Linked DNA regions of Homo sapiens: regions 1 and 2 are each linked to region 3. Evidence: promoter capture Hi-C in human tissues and cell types (Jung and others, 2019). All regions are on one chromosome and are shown on one strand. Each heading gives the region's core, a stretch centred on a gene start or on the middle of the fragment in contact. The rest is flanking DNA. Distances are from core to core; before and after follow the strand shown.

Region 1 (4,022 bases), core at 29-2,528, 54 kb before region 3:
CTCACTGCAACCTTCGCCTCCCGGGTTCAAGCAATTCTCCTGCCTCAGCCTCCTGAGTAGCTGAGATTACAGGCATGCGCCACTATGCCTGGCTAATTTTTGTATTTTTAGTAGAGATGGGATTTCTCCATGTTGGTCAGGCTGGTCTCGAACTCCCGACCTCAGGTGATCTGCCCGCCTCAGCCTCCCAAAGTGCTGGGGTCACAGGTGTGAGTCACCACTCCTGGCTACAATCTCTTTTTTTTTTTTTAATTATGCCCCAGAACTGAGCAATCTCTTGTTTTTTTGTTTGTTTGTTCTGTTTTTTTTTTGAGACAGAGTCTCAAATCTCGGCTCACTGTAACCTCCGCCTCCTGGGTTCAAGCCATTCTGCCTCAGAGTAGCTGGGATTACAGACACACACCACCACGCCCAGCTAATTTTTGTATTTTTAGTAGAGGCGGGATTTCACCACGTTGGCCAGGCTGGTCTTAAACTCCTGACCTCAAGTGATCCACCTCCCCCAGCCTCCCAAAGTGCTGGAATTACAGGCACGAGCCACCGTGCCTGGCCAAATCTCTTGTCTTTTTAAACGTAGAGCAGAAGTTCTTAAGTTAGGAGTCTGTGGATACAATTCAAAGGGTCCATGAAGTTGGATGAGGCAAAAATTACATTTTTATTTTCACCAAATTCTAATTAAAATTTAGCATTTCCTAGGCCGGGTACAGTGGCTCATGCCTGTAATCCAAGCACTTTGGGAGGCCGAGGCGGGCGGATCACAAGGTCAGGAGATCAACACCATCACCATCATGGCGAACACAGTGAAACTCCATCTCTACTAAAAATACCAAAAATTAGCCAGGCGTGGTGGTGGGCGCATGTAGTCCCAGCTAGTCTGGAGGCTGAGGCAGGAGAATGCTGTGAACCTGGGAGGCAGAGCTTCCGGTGAGCTGAGATTGCGCCACTGCACTCCAGCCTGGGCAACAGAGCAAGATTCCATCTCAAAAAAAAAAAAAAATTTAGCATTTCCTTCCATTACAAATGAAGATAACGAAGTACAATACTATGAGCTGTGGCTTTGTCATCAATATAAATTACAGAAGTTTTCATATCACATTACGGCTAATGAAAATATCTCAGAAATATCATTTATATTCATCACTACTTTAAAACTATTATAGTTGGCCAGGCGCAGTGGCTCACGCTTGTAATCCCAGCACTTTGCGAAGCCGAAGCAGACGGATCACGAGGTCAGGAGTTCAAGACCAGCCTGGCCAACATGGTGAAATCCCGTCTCTACTAAAAATACAAAAATTAGCTGGGTGTGGTGGTGCATGCCTGTAATCCCAGCTACTCGGGATGCTGAGGCAGGAGAATGGCTTGAACTCAGGAGGTGGAGGTTGCCGTGAGCTGAGATTGTACCACTGCACTCCAGCCTGGGTGACAGAGCAAGACCCTGTCTCTAAATAAATAAATAAAATAAAACTATTGTAGTTATTGGACCTGCTGCTAGATCTTGTTATTTAGTGCATTAATAATGGAACATGTGTATTCCATATTGTACTTTAAAATATTTTGATAACTATATTTCTCCGGGTGTGGTGGCTCACACCTGTAATCCCAGCACTTTGGGAGGCCGAGGCGGGCAGATCACTTGAGGTCAGGAGTTTGAGACCAGCCTGACCAACATGGAGAAACCCCGTCTCTACTAAAAGTACAAAATTAGCCAGGCGTGGTGACACATGCCTGTAATCCCAGCTACTTGGGAGGCTGAGGCAGGAGAATCGCTTGAACCTGGGAGGCGGAGGTTGCGGTGAGCCAAGATCGCGCCATTGCACTGCAGCCTGGGCAACAACAGCAAAACTCCGTCTCAAAAAAAAAAAAAACCTATTTTTTAATGATCCTGTTTTTTATTTCATGCATTTAAGACATTCTGAGAAAAGAATTCATTGGCTTCACCAGACTGTCAGTGGGGCTGGAGGGGAAGCCTTTGGCTCAAATACAGTCTGCCCCCACACACATAGCCTTTATTAGTAGTGGTATTAGTCTTTGTTTAGTATTAGTATTTGCTTTCTGAAGAGCCCAGGCCTTTGTTGAATGTCTGACATTCTGGGTTCACCTGATTATTTACTCACGGTGTTACTTGTTATTTACATTTCCTATAAATGTAAAGTTAGGTCTAAAGACTTGATTAGATCTAAGTTGAGTGTTTTGACAAGATTATTTTAAAGGTGATGCTGTGCAGTTCTCATTGCATTACATCAGCAGGCACATGATATCTGGTTGTCCCACTGTTAGTGATGCTAAGTGTGATCACTGAGCTACAGAGGTTAAGACACTTTTGTTTTTGCAGAATCTAATGATATTTAAATTTATGGAAAAATGTAAACATATACAATAGCAGAGGTGATAGTGTAATGAACTCTGTTGTATGGGTCACTCAGCTTCTACAGTTATTAACATGTGGCCAATCTTGTTTCATTGGTATCTCTTCATTCCTCTCCCCCGAAAAATGCATATACACAGATTCCAGAGATCATGTCTTTTTTATTCATAAACAATTTAGTATGTATCTCTAAATGACGTTGTTGCATTTAATTGCAAATAACTCCTTATCTTCAAGTACCCAGTCTGTGTTCAGATTCCCTGATTGTCTCATACATGTTTCTTTATGACTGGTTCAAATCAAGATGGAAACAAAGTCCACACATTTCATTCCATTAAGGTATCTCTGTCTCTTTTTTTGCCATTTACTTGTTGAAGAAACTGGACTGCATTAAATTAGCACACTGTCTTAAAGTGTTCATTTATAGATTAATTGAACATAACATCTTCAAATATGAGTTCCATGGGAGAATAAAATGTATTTGACGTTGTATATCTTTGCATTTTTTAGTACAAATAGTAATAAGTCACTACTCAACATAATGAATCATCAGCCAAAATAAGAAAAAATATCCATTAAGATTAAGCTTGTTCCTTTCAGCCGGAACCGCCATCTTCCAGTAATTCGCCAAAATGACGAACACAAAGGGAAAGAGGAGAGGCACCCAATATATGTTCTCTAGGCCTTTTAGAAAACATGGAGTTGTTGCTTTGGCCACGTATATGCAAATCTATAAGAAAGGTGATATTGTAGACATCAAGGGAATGGGTACTGTTCAAAAAGGAATGCCCCACAAGTGTTACCATGGCAAAACTGGAAGAGTCTATAATGTCCCCCAGCATGCTGTTGGCATTGTTGTAAACACACAAGTTAAGGGCAAGATTCTTGCCAAGAGAATTAATGTGCGTATTGAGCACATTAAGCACTCTAAAAGCTGAGATAGTTTCCTGAAACACATGAAGGAAAATGATCAGAAAAAGAAGGAAGCCAAATAGAAAGGTACCTGGGTTCAACAGAAGCACCAGCCTGCTCCACCCAGAGAAGCACACTTTGTGAGAACCAATGCGAAGGAGCCTGAGCTGCTGGAACCTATTCCCTATGAATTCATGGCATAACAGGTGTTAATAAATAAATAAAAGACCTCTGGGCTGTAAAAAAAAAAAAAAAAAAAGATTAAGCTTGTTAAAATGCTACTTCTGAAGGCTCAGTGATCCTAATTTCCTCACTTGACCTTAATTTAGGACTGCATCAAAAAAAACTATTGTTTCTCATAGACTTTTTGGGAATGAAGATGATGACAATTACTTAATATAAGGTATAATAAAATAATAAATAATAAAATTTAAAATCAAAATTACCTCCCAACTGGAATACTGATTGTATTAGTTTCCCAGGACTGCCAAACATAAATTTATTATTTTACAGTTCTAGAGGCTAGACATCCCATATAAAGGTGTTGGTAGGTTTGGTTCCTTCTGTGGACTGTGAGGAAGAATCTGTGCCATTCCTCTCCCCTAGCTTCTGGTGGTTTGCTGGCAATCTTTGGCGTTCCTTAGCTTGCAGGAGCATTTGGTGTTCCTTAGCTTGTAGAAGCATTACCCCAGTTTCTGCCTTCGTCTGCACATGGCTTTCTCCCAGGTTTCCAGATGTTGGTGTC
Region 2 (3,795 bases), core at 149-2,648, 36 kb before region 3:
CTCCCAGGTTCAAGCAATTCTCCTGCCTCAGCCTCCTGAGTAGCTGGGACTACAGGTGCACACCACCACGCCCAGCTAATTTTTGTATTTTTAGTAGAGACAGGATTTCATTCACCATGTTGGGCAGGCTGGTCTTGAACTCCTGACCTCAACTGATCTGCCCACCTCTGCCTTCCAAAGTGCTAGGATTACAGGCCTGAGTCACTGTGCCCTGCCCAAGCTGTATCTTAATTAAAAATAGCAGAAGTAAATGAAAATCTCTCTGGTGAAGGCTACCTTCAACCCAGATGGCAAAGAATTCCTAGATATAAAGTGTGTATAAACATGACCTCACAATCAGAAGTGACATCAACAGACATGACTGACAGCAGAATTATGCCCATAAAACTTAAGCTGCTATGATTAAACTATAATACCATTTAGTTTAAAGAAATAAAAGATCTACTTGAAAACATGAGTAAGAAACAAAAGACTAACAAAAATGGGAAGGAGCCAGGTGTTGTGGCAATCCCAGCGCTTTGGGAGGTCAAGGCAAGAGGGGTGCTTGAGCCCAGAAGTGCAAGGCCAACATAAGCAACAAAGCAAGACCTTGTTTCTATGAAATAAAATAGCTAGGCGCAGTGGCTCACACCTGTAATCCCAGCACTTTGGGAGGCCGAGGTCACTTTGGGCAGATCACAAGGTCAGGAGATAGAGACCATCCTGGCTAACACGGTGAAACCCTGTCTCTACTAAAAATACAAAAAAAAATTACCCCGGCGTGGTGGCAGGTGCCTGTAGTCCCAGCTACTCAGGAGGCTGAGGCAGGAGAATGGCATGAACCCGGGAGGTGGAGCTTGCAGTGAGCAGAGATCGCACCACTGCACTCCAGCCTGGGTGACAGAGCGAGATTCTGTCTAAAAAAAGTAAAATAAAACAAATTAGCCAGATGAGGTGGTGTGCACTCATAGGCCCAGCTCTTCGAGAGGCTGAAATGAGCGGATCACTTCGGCTCAGGAGTTCGAGGCTGCAGTGAGCTATGCTCTGTGATTGGGCCACTGTACTCCAGCTTGGATGACAGAGCAAGACCATGTCTCTTAAAAAATAAAAAACTTAAAGCAGCCAGAGAGAAAAAAGAGATTACCTAAAATAAGACAACAATTAAATCAGTCGGGCGCGGTGGCTCACACCTGTAATCCCAGTGTGTCTGGAGTTGGTGGGTTCTTGGTCTCACTGACTTCAAGAATGAAGCCACGGACCCTCGCGGTGAGTGTTACAGCTCTGAAGGTGGTGCGTCTGGAGTTTGTTCCTTCTGATGTTCAGTTGTGTTCGGAGTTTTCTCCTGGTGGGTTCGTGGTCTTGCTGGCTCAAGAGTGAAGGTGCAGACCTTCGCAGTGAGTGTTACAGCTCTTAAGGCAGCGCGTCTGGAGTTGTTTGTTCCTCCCGGTGGGCTCGTGGTTTCGCTAGGCTCAGGAGTGAAGCTGCAGATTTTCGCAGTGAGTGTTACAGCTCATAAAAGCAGCGTGGACCTGAGCAGTAGCAAGATTTATCGCAAAGAGCAAAAGAACAAAGCTTCCACAGTATTGAAGGGGACAATAGCAGGTTGCCAATGCTGACTCCGGCAGCCTGCTTTTATTCTCTTATCTGGCCCCACCCACATCCTGCTGATTGGTAGAGCCGAGTGGCCTGTTTTGACAGGGGGCTGATTGGTGCGTTTACAATCCCTGAGCTAGATACAAAGGTTCTCCACGTCTCCATCAGATTAGTTAGATACAGAGTTTCGACATAAAGGTTCTCCAAGGCCCCACCAGAGCAGCTAGATACAGAGTGTCGATTGGTGCATTCACAAACCTTGAGCTAAACACAGGGTGCTGATTGGTGTATTTACAATCCCTGAGCTAGACATAAAGACTCTCCACGTCCCCACCAGACTCAGGAGCCCAGCTGGCTTCACCTAGTGGATCCCGCACGGGGGCTGCAGGTGGAGCTGCCTGCCAGTTCCGCGCCGTGCGCTCGCACCCCTCAGCCCTTGGGTGGTCGATGGGACTGGGCGCGGTGGAGCAGGGGGCGGCGCTCCTTGGGGAGGCTCGGGCCGCACAGGAGCCCATGGAGTGGGTGGGAGGCTCAGGCATGGCGGGCTGCAGGTCCCGAGCCCTGCCCGGCGGGAAGGCATCTAAGGCCTGGCGAGAAATTGAGCACAGCGCCGGTGGGCCGGCACTGCTGGGGGACCCAGTACACCCTCCGCAGCCACTGGCCCGGGTGCTAAGTCCCTCATTGCCCAGGACCAGCAGGGCTGGCTGGCTGCTCCGAGTGCGGGGCCCACCAAGCCCACGCCCATCTGGAACTCCAGCTGGCCCACAAGCGCCGCACGCAGCCCCGGTTCCCGCTCGTGCCTCTCCCTCCACACCTCCCTGCAAGCTGAGGGAGTGGGCTCCAGCCTTGGCCAGCCCAGAAAGGGGCTCCCACAGTGCAGTGGGGGGCTGAAGGGCTCCTCAAATGCCGCCAAAGTGGGATCCCAGGCAGGGGAGGTGCCAAGAGCAAGCGAGGGCTCTGAGGACTGCCAGCACGCTGTCACCTCTCACCAGCACTTTGGGAGGCCGAGGTGGGTGGATCACCTGAGGTCAGGAGTTTGAGACCAGCCTGACCAACCTGGTAAAACCGTGTCTCTACTAAAAATACAAAAATTAGCCAGGCGTGGTGGCGCATGCCTGTAACCCCAGCTACTCGGGAGGCTGAGACAGGAGAATTGCTTGAACCCGGGAGGTAGAGGGTACAATGAGTGGAGACCGTACCATTGCACTCCAGCCTGAGCAACAAGAGTGAAACTCTGCCTCAAAACAAAACAAAAAAACAATTAAATCGATAGCAGACTTTTCAAAAGCAAGGATGGAAAACCAGAAGACAGTAGAATAATGTCTTCAAAGAGCTGGAATAAAAAGAACAATCAACATACAATTAAACTAATGAAGCTATATTTCAAGAATGATAAGGAAATCAGATCATTTTCAGACAAAAATTAAGTTTATCAACAAACCTTCACTAAAGACATGTTTAAAGGAAATAGTTCAGAAAAAGAGAAAATGAGCCTCCGATAAGTTTGAGATTCAAGAAGAAATGTTGAACATTATAGGATAGTCATTAAAAAAACTAAACATAGAGTGTACTACTCTCAAACTACTAGAGGGAAAAAAATGAAATGAGAAAAATAATTAAATCCAAATGAAAAGAGAGGAAATTAAAACATAGAAAAACAAAGATAATGATAAAGCATCAAATATGATAGAAACATATCTAGCCATTACAGTGAAAACCATAATAAATGTGAATGAACTAAATTAGGAAGGTAAAAGACAAAAATTGTCAAGCTGGATTAAAAGTAAAACAAAACCAAGTTTATAAGAGAAACACCTAAAATAGACACAGATAAAAATATGCCTAACAACATCTAACTAAAAGAAAGCTGGCTGGTTAGCTTGGGCAACATAGTAAGACCCCATATCTACAAAAAAAAAAAAATTAAAATAAGAAAATTAAATACAAAATTAGCCAGGCGTGGTGGTGTGCACCTGTAATCCCAGTTACTCAGGAGGCTGAGGCAGGAGAATTACTTGAACCTGGGAAGTGAGAGGTTGCAGTGAGCCAAGATAGTGCCACTGCACTCCCGCCTGGGCAACAGAGCAAGATTCCGTCTCAAAAAAAAAAAAAAAAGCCAGGGGCAGTGGCTCACTCCTGTAATCCCAGGACTTTGGAAGGCCAAGGAGGGCGGATCACAAGGTCAGGAGTTCGAGAACAGCCTGAACAACGTGGTGAAACCCC
Region 3 (4,044 bases), core at 1-2,500:
GAAGTAGGTGAAGCCAGGAGGGGCTGGTAGGTTGGGCGAAGAGGAAGGTATCAAGGGACTGGAGGAAGAGCAATACATAGTGGGACTGTGAAGGTGGAAAGGACTGCAGAGTCGGGTCTGACAGGGGGGCACCTGAGCTTCGGATTTCCAAGATGGAGCAGTTCTGAGGGATGACACAGCCCAGGCTTTGGCCCTGAGACCTGATGGCTGAGGTGGAGTGGAAGGTCACTGGAGATGAGATGGAGGAAGTAGGTGACCCTGTACTACACAAATTCCCTAGAGGACAGACAGGTTGAGGGTGGAGAGGAAGCCAGAAGTGAGCTTCCAGGAATTGAATGAAAGGGCCCAGGAGATTGGACAATGAGGAGGTGTGCGGGCCTCAGAGGGCAGGGGGCACACAAAGACTAACCAAGGGGAGGAAGCTGACCGCAACCGCCCCGAGGACAAGACGGGCGTCCTCGGTACAGGGCCATGTTTAGTGACGGCAGAAGGGAGAAAGGAAGCTCCTGGGAGCACAGGGGGAAGGGGAGCCGGAAGCCAGAGCCAGGGCTGGGGCCACGAAGGACAGACGGCCGGTGTTGGAGGCGGAGGCTGGCCTGGGATGTGAGGCTGGGGTTGGCCGGCCTCCAGGCTCCCCGGGAGCCCCTGCTGAAAGTCTGTGGGCGCTGGCCTGGGCGAAGCCGCGGTCCCCCGCCTGTGGGCTCAACTCTGCGCTCTGCTTCAAGCAAACGCACTAGGAGAGGAGTCAGGAGACGAGGAACTGCGGGGCCCCACCTCGCGCGGGCAACCGCTGTCTGTCCAGGGAGGGCCCAGGCCTGTCTCCGCAGATAGCTTTGAAGCAGGGCCCCCGGTGTGGCCCTCTGGAGGCCTCCCGCGTCCCCTTTTGAGGGGCTGCCCTGCTTGGCCTGGGGAACACAGCGAAGGGCACCTCGTGGAGCCCAATTTAGGGACAACACATTAATTCTGGAAATTCCAGATTCTTTCCGGGGGTCCTCAACCGGCCGGGGTCGGAAAGGCCTGGCAGGGCTCCGCCGGCAGGGGGCGCTCGGGACAGGGGGGCGAGGGGGGCGGACATCCGTTGCGGGGCGCTGCCTGCGCCGGGCCGGCCAGCCCTTGAGGCGAGCACGGCCTGCGGGGCCGATGAGGCCGGGGCCGGCCGGGGCGGGGCGGGGCCAGGGGCGGGGGAAGGAGTCCGAGGGGCGGGGCGGGGGCCGGCAGCCGCCCTCCCTCACTCTCCCTCCCTTTCTTTCTTTCTTTCTTTCTCTCCTTCTAGCTCTCTTGTCTTTTCTTTGCCTCTGCAGCGGCCAAGGGGGCGGGCCCTGCAGCCTTTGTTGCCCGCGGACCGAGCGCAGCCGAACGGAGTCGGGGCCGGGTCGCCGGGAGCTGCACGCCGGCCGGGCATGTCCTGAGCCGGACCTGGGACCAGGCAGCGACCGGACGGGACGGACGAGAGCGTGCGCGCGGGGTCACCCGGCGGCCGCCCGGTTCCTGCCATGCCCGGCGGCCCCAGTCCCCGCAGCCCCGCGCCTTTGCTGCGCCCCCTCCTCCTGCTCCTCTGCGCTCTGGCTCCCGGCGCCCCCGGACCCGCACCAGGTGGGTGTCCGCCCCTCCCCGGCCAGCCGGGCCTGCCACCCCTTCCCGCTCCCCCAGTCTCGGTTTTGTCCCTCCTCACCTTTGTGGACCCCGCGCCGGCTCCGCTGTGCCTGGAGTTGGTCGCGTCTTCCGCTCCCTGGGTATTAGGGGACAGTAGTCGGGGTCGGGCCGGGCCGGGAGCGAAGCCGCGCTTCTGGGGAAACTTCCTCGGCCCCTGATTCAGTTACTGACACTGCCTGTCGCCTGGAATAAGCCCCTTCCGCTCTTCGGGCTCCGGTTTCCCCACCTCGGGTGCAGCAACGCGCCTGGCTCCCGGGAGAGCTCTCGTCCGAGTGGGCTGGACGGAGCGCGGTTTACCCACTGAGGATTTGGTTTCTCACACTCCTTAGCGAGGCTCGCCTGGAAAGCGGGCTGGCCGGGACACAGCCGGCGAGGGCGCCAGGTCGCAGGTCTTCGCGGGACCCCGCCGCCCCCCCAGCTCCCGCCCACCGCATCTGGGCTGCTGGCGCGGCCCCTGGCGGCTCGGGGGGCCGGGTCTTGCGCGGTCCTTGCACTTCCTGCCTCTCCCTTCCCCAAGTGTGAAGACGCCGGGAGTGGAGCGGGGAGCAGGAGCTTCTTTTCCCGGCCATGGGTTAACTCTCCCCGCCCCGCCGGGCCGGCCTCCGACGAGCCTCTGGCCTGCGTCCAGACTCTTGTTTGGCGGCGACCTGCCGGGCGGCCGCGCTGCTGGCGCGTCCGACGCAGCCGGCCTGGGAATTCAGTAACCGAGGATGTAGGAGACCCCAGGCCCGGTGCTCAGGGAGCTCCCAGTCAGGGGAGCCGGTGGATAGTGGGGAGAGTCCTGCAATAGAGCCGACCGGCAGGCTTTGTAGGAGAGGAGGGGCATGAGGTTGGAGAGACTGGAAGGATGGATGGATTCTGGATGAGCTAGAAGGGCGTGGAGGGAGTGGGGCCCTCCCCTGGGGAGCATCAGTCGGGGGACTGGATTAGGGTTGCTTGCTGGGATGGGGTCGACCTGCCTCCCCACTGGAGGGATTGTGACGAGAAAGTAGTCTGGGCGGGAAGGATGGGGACATTGACTCTTGATCTTAGAGGTTTGGGAAGCCGTTGAGGGGAGCAGCTGATGAAAGCAGTGTTTTGGAAAGATTTGGTCTAGCAGCCATGCGCAGAGCGCAGAGGGAGCGAACATTTAATGAGCACCTACTGTGTGCCAGCCTCACGGGTTCTTATTTCTCATCATCTCCACAACAACCGTGCAAAGCAAGTGATGGAAAGTCCTTTTATGGACCAGCAAACAGGCTCAGAGTAGAGCGACCTGTGGGGTTGGACTCCTGAGCTTCCTGAATGAGGCTTGTGTTTTCCACTGTCCAGAGCTGGGGGCTGAGGAGGATGAACCGGGCGATGGGAATGGGAGAGCAGGAAAATGCTTCCCTCAGGACTTGGGTCCTGGCCCCCTGGCAGCTGTGGGAAGAGTTGGGTGCGGTCAACCTCGTGGGATTCTTATGAGGATTAAATGAGATATTGAATATGTCAGTTGCTCAGGCAGGACACAGTGACTACAATGTAGTGGTCATTATTTTTATTAATCTGCCAGGCCGACCCAGGACTCCCCAGATGACCTGGACCTGCTGTTTGAGGGTGGAGGCAGGCCAGGCACTCTCTCCAACCTAATCTGGGCACAAACACTCCAAGGGTGAAGTCTGTCTCTAGTGTTCCCATAGATATAGAGCATGGGGTCCTTCCTGTTCTGCACTCCCTCAGGATTGGTGACTCTGAGGCTGCTGGCCTGTTTGTCATTTTCTTTGAAGCCCAGGACCTAAGCCTGGGGCTCCTCCTACCACTGAATGTTACCTTCTTTAAGACCAAAGGGCTCATCCTGGGCTCACTTTTAGGAAAATATATCCCTTTTCCCCACTTGTGACTGACCCAGGGACCTGCTAGGGTTTCTGAGGCTGGAGCCCAGTCATGTGTCCTCCTCATGCCGTATGGCACATGTGAACTCTGTGTGCATGTGTTTCTGTGCATACTAGAACTCACAGAGGAGGGCATTCACATACTACCCCCCACCCTGCCAGTTATTTTTCCTCCTTGGCATGAGCTGTGGGTCATTTGAAGGGCTGGATTGTAACTCAGGTTCTTGATAGGGAGGTGAGGGTAAACACCATCTTGGCATTTCTTTGGTAGAAGCTCCAAAGTGACAGTTCTGTCACCCAGGGGAGATATTAAAAGTATTTAACACCCAATGTGGCAGGAGCTTGGTCCAATCAGAACAGACCTCCTGACTTGGCAGAATAGATTTGGCCATGAATCTCTGGCAGTCCTCTTGAATGGTGCCTGTTGCCATCCCACTGTCACTTGAACTCTGCAGGCTCAGCTTTGTTGCAAGCACATAACCGGTCGAGACTGGAACCTGCAATTACTCCTTGCTGGCACTGGGTGGTGCTAGTTTCA

Evidence for each region. The method cuts DNA at HindIII sites, captures the fragments that hold promoters and counts their contacts. A contact is called where the count stands out against the background at its distance.
Region 1: a fragment that was not itself captured here is called in contact with the fragment with the promoter of ADAMTS7 in region 3 in 3 of the 25 tissues and cell types used here (mesenchymal stem cells, mesendoderm cells and ovary).
Region 2: a contact is called between a fragment that was not itself captured here and the fragment with the promoter of ADAMTS7 in region 3, in 3 of the 25 tissues and cell types used here (hippocampus, mesendoderm cells and thymus).

Annotation. Positions count from the first base shown.
Region 1 is chr15:78,862,705-78,866,726 of GRCh38, reverse strand. LOC124903535 (a long non-coding RNA gene) reads right to left here. Exons shown (of 2, transcript XR_007064727.1): 2 at 2,507-4,022. It also overlaps the pseudogene RPL21P116. Among named protein-coding and RNA genes, the nearest start is that of TRK-CTT1-2, 4.2 kb to the right of the region's middle. The HindIII fragment of the contact is 3,939 bases long and covers 1-3,247 here.
Region 2 is chr15:78,845,456-78,849,250 of GRCh38, reverse strand. No RefSeq gene overlaps it. Among named protein-coding and RNA genes, the nearest start is that of TRK-CTT1-2, 13 kb to the left of the region's middle. The HindIII fragment of the contact is 5,610 bases long and covers 1-3,795 here.
Region 3 is chr15:78,808,670-78,812,713 of GRCh38, reverse strand. It overlaps ADAMTS7 (ADAM metallopeptidase with thrombospondin type 1 motif 7), which reads left to right and starts at 1,250. Exons shown (of 24, transcript NM_014272.5): 1 at 1,250-1,593. The coding sequence starts at 1,494. RefSeq lists a silencer at 803-1,222. The HindIII fragment of the contact is 14,119 bases long and covers 1-4,044 here.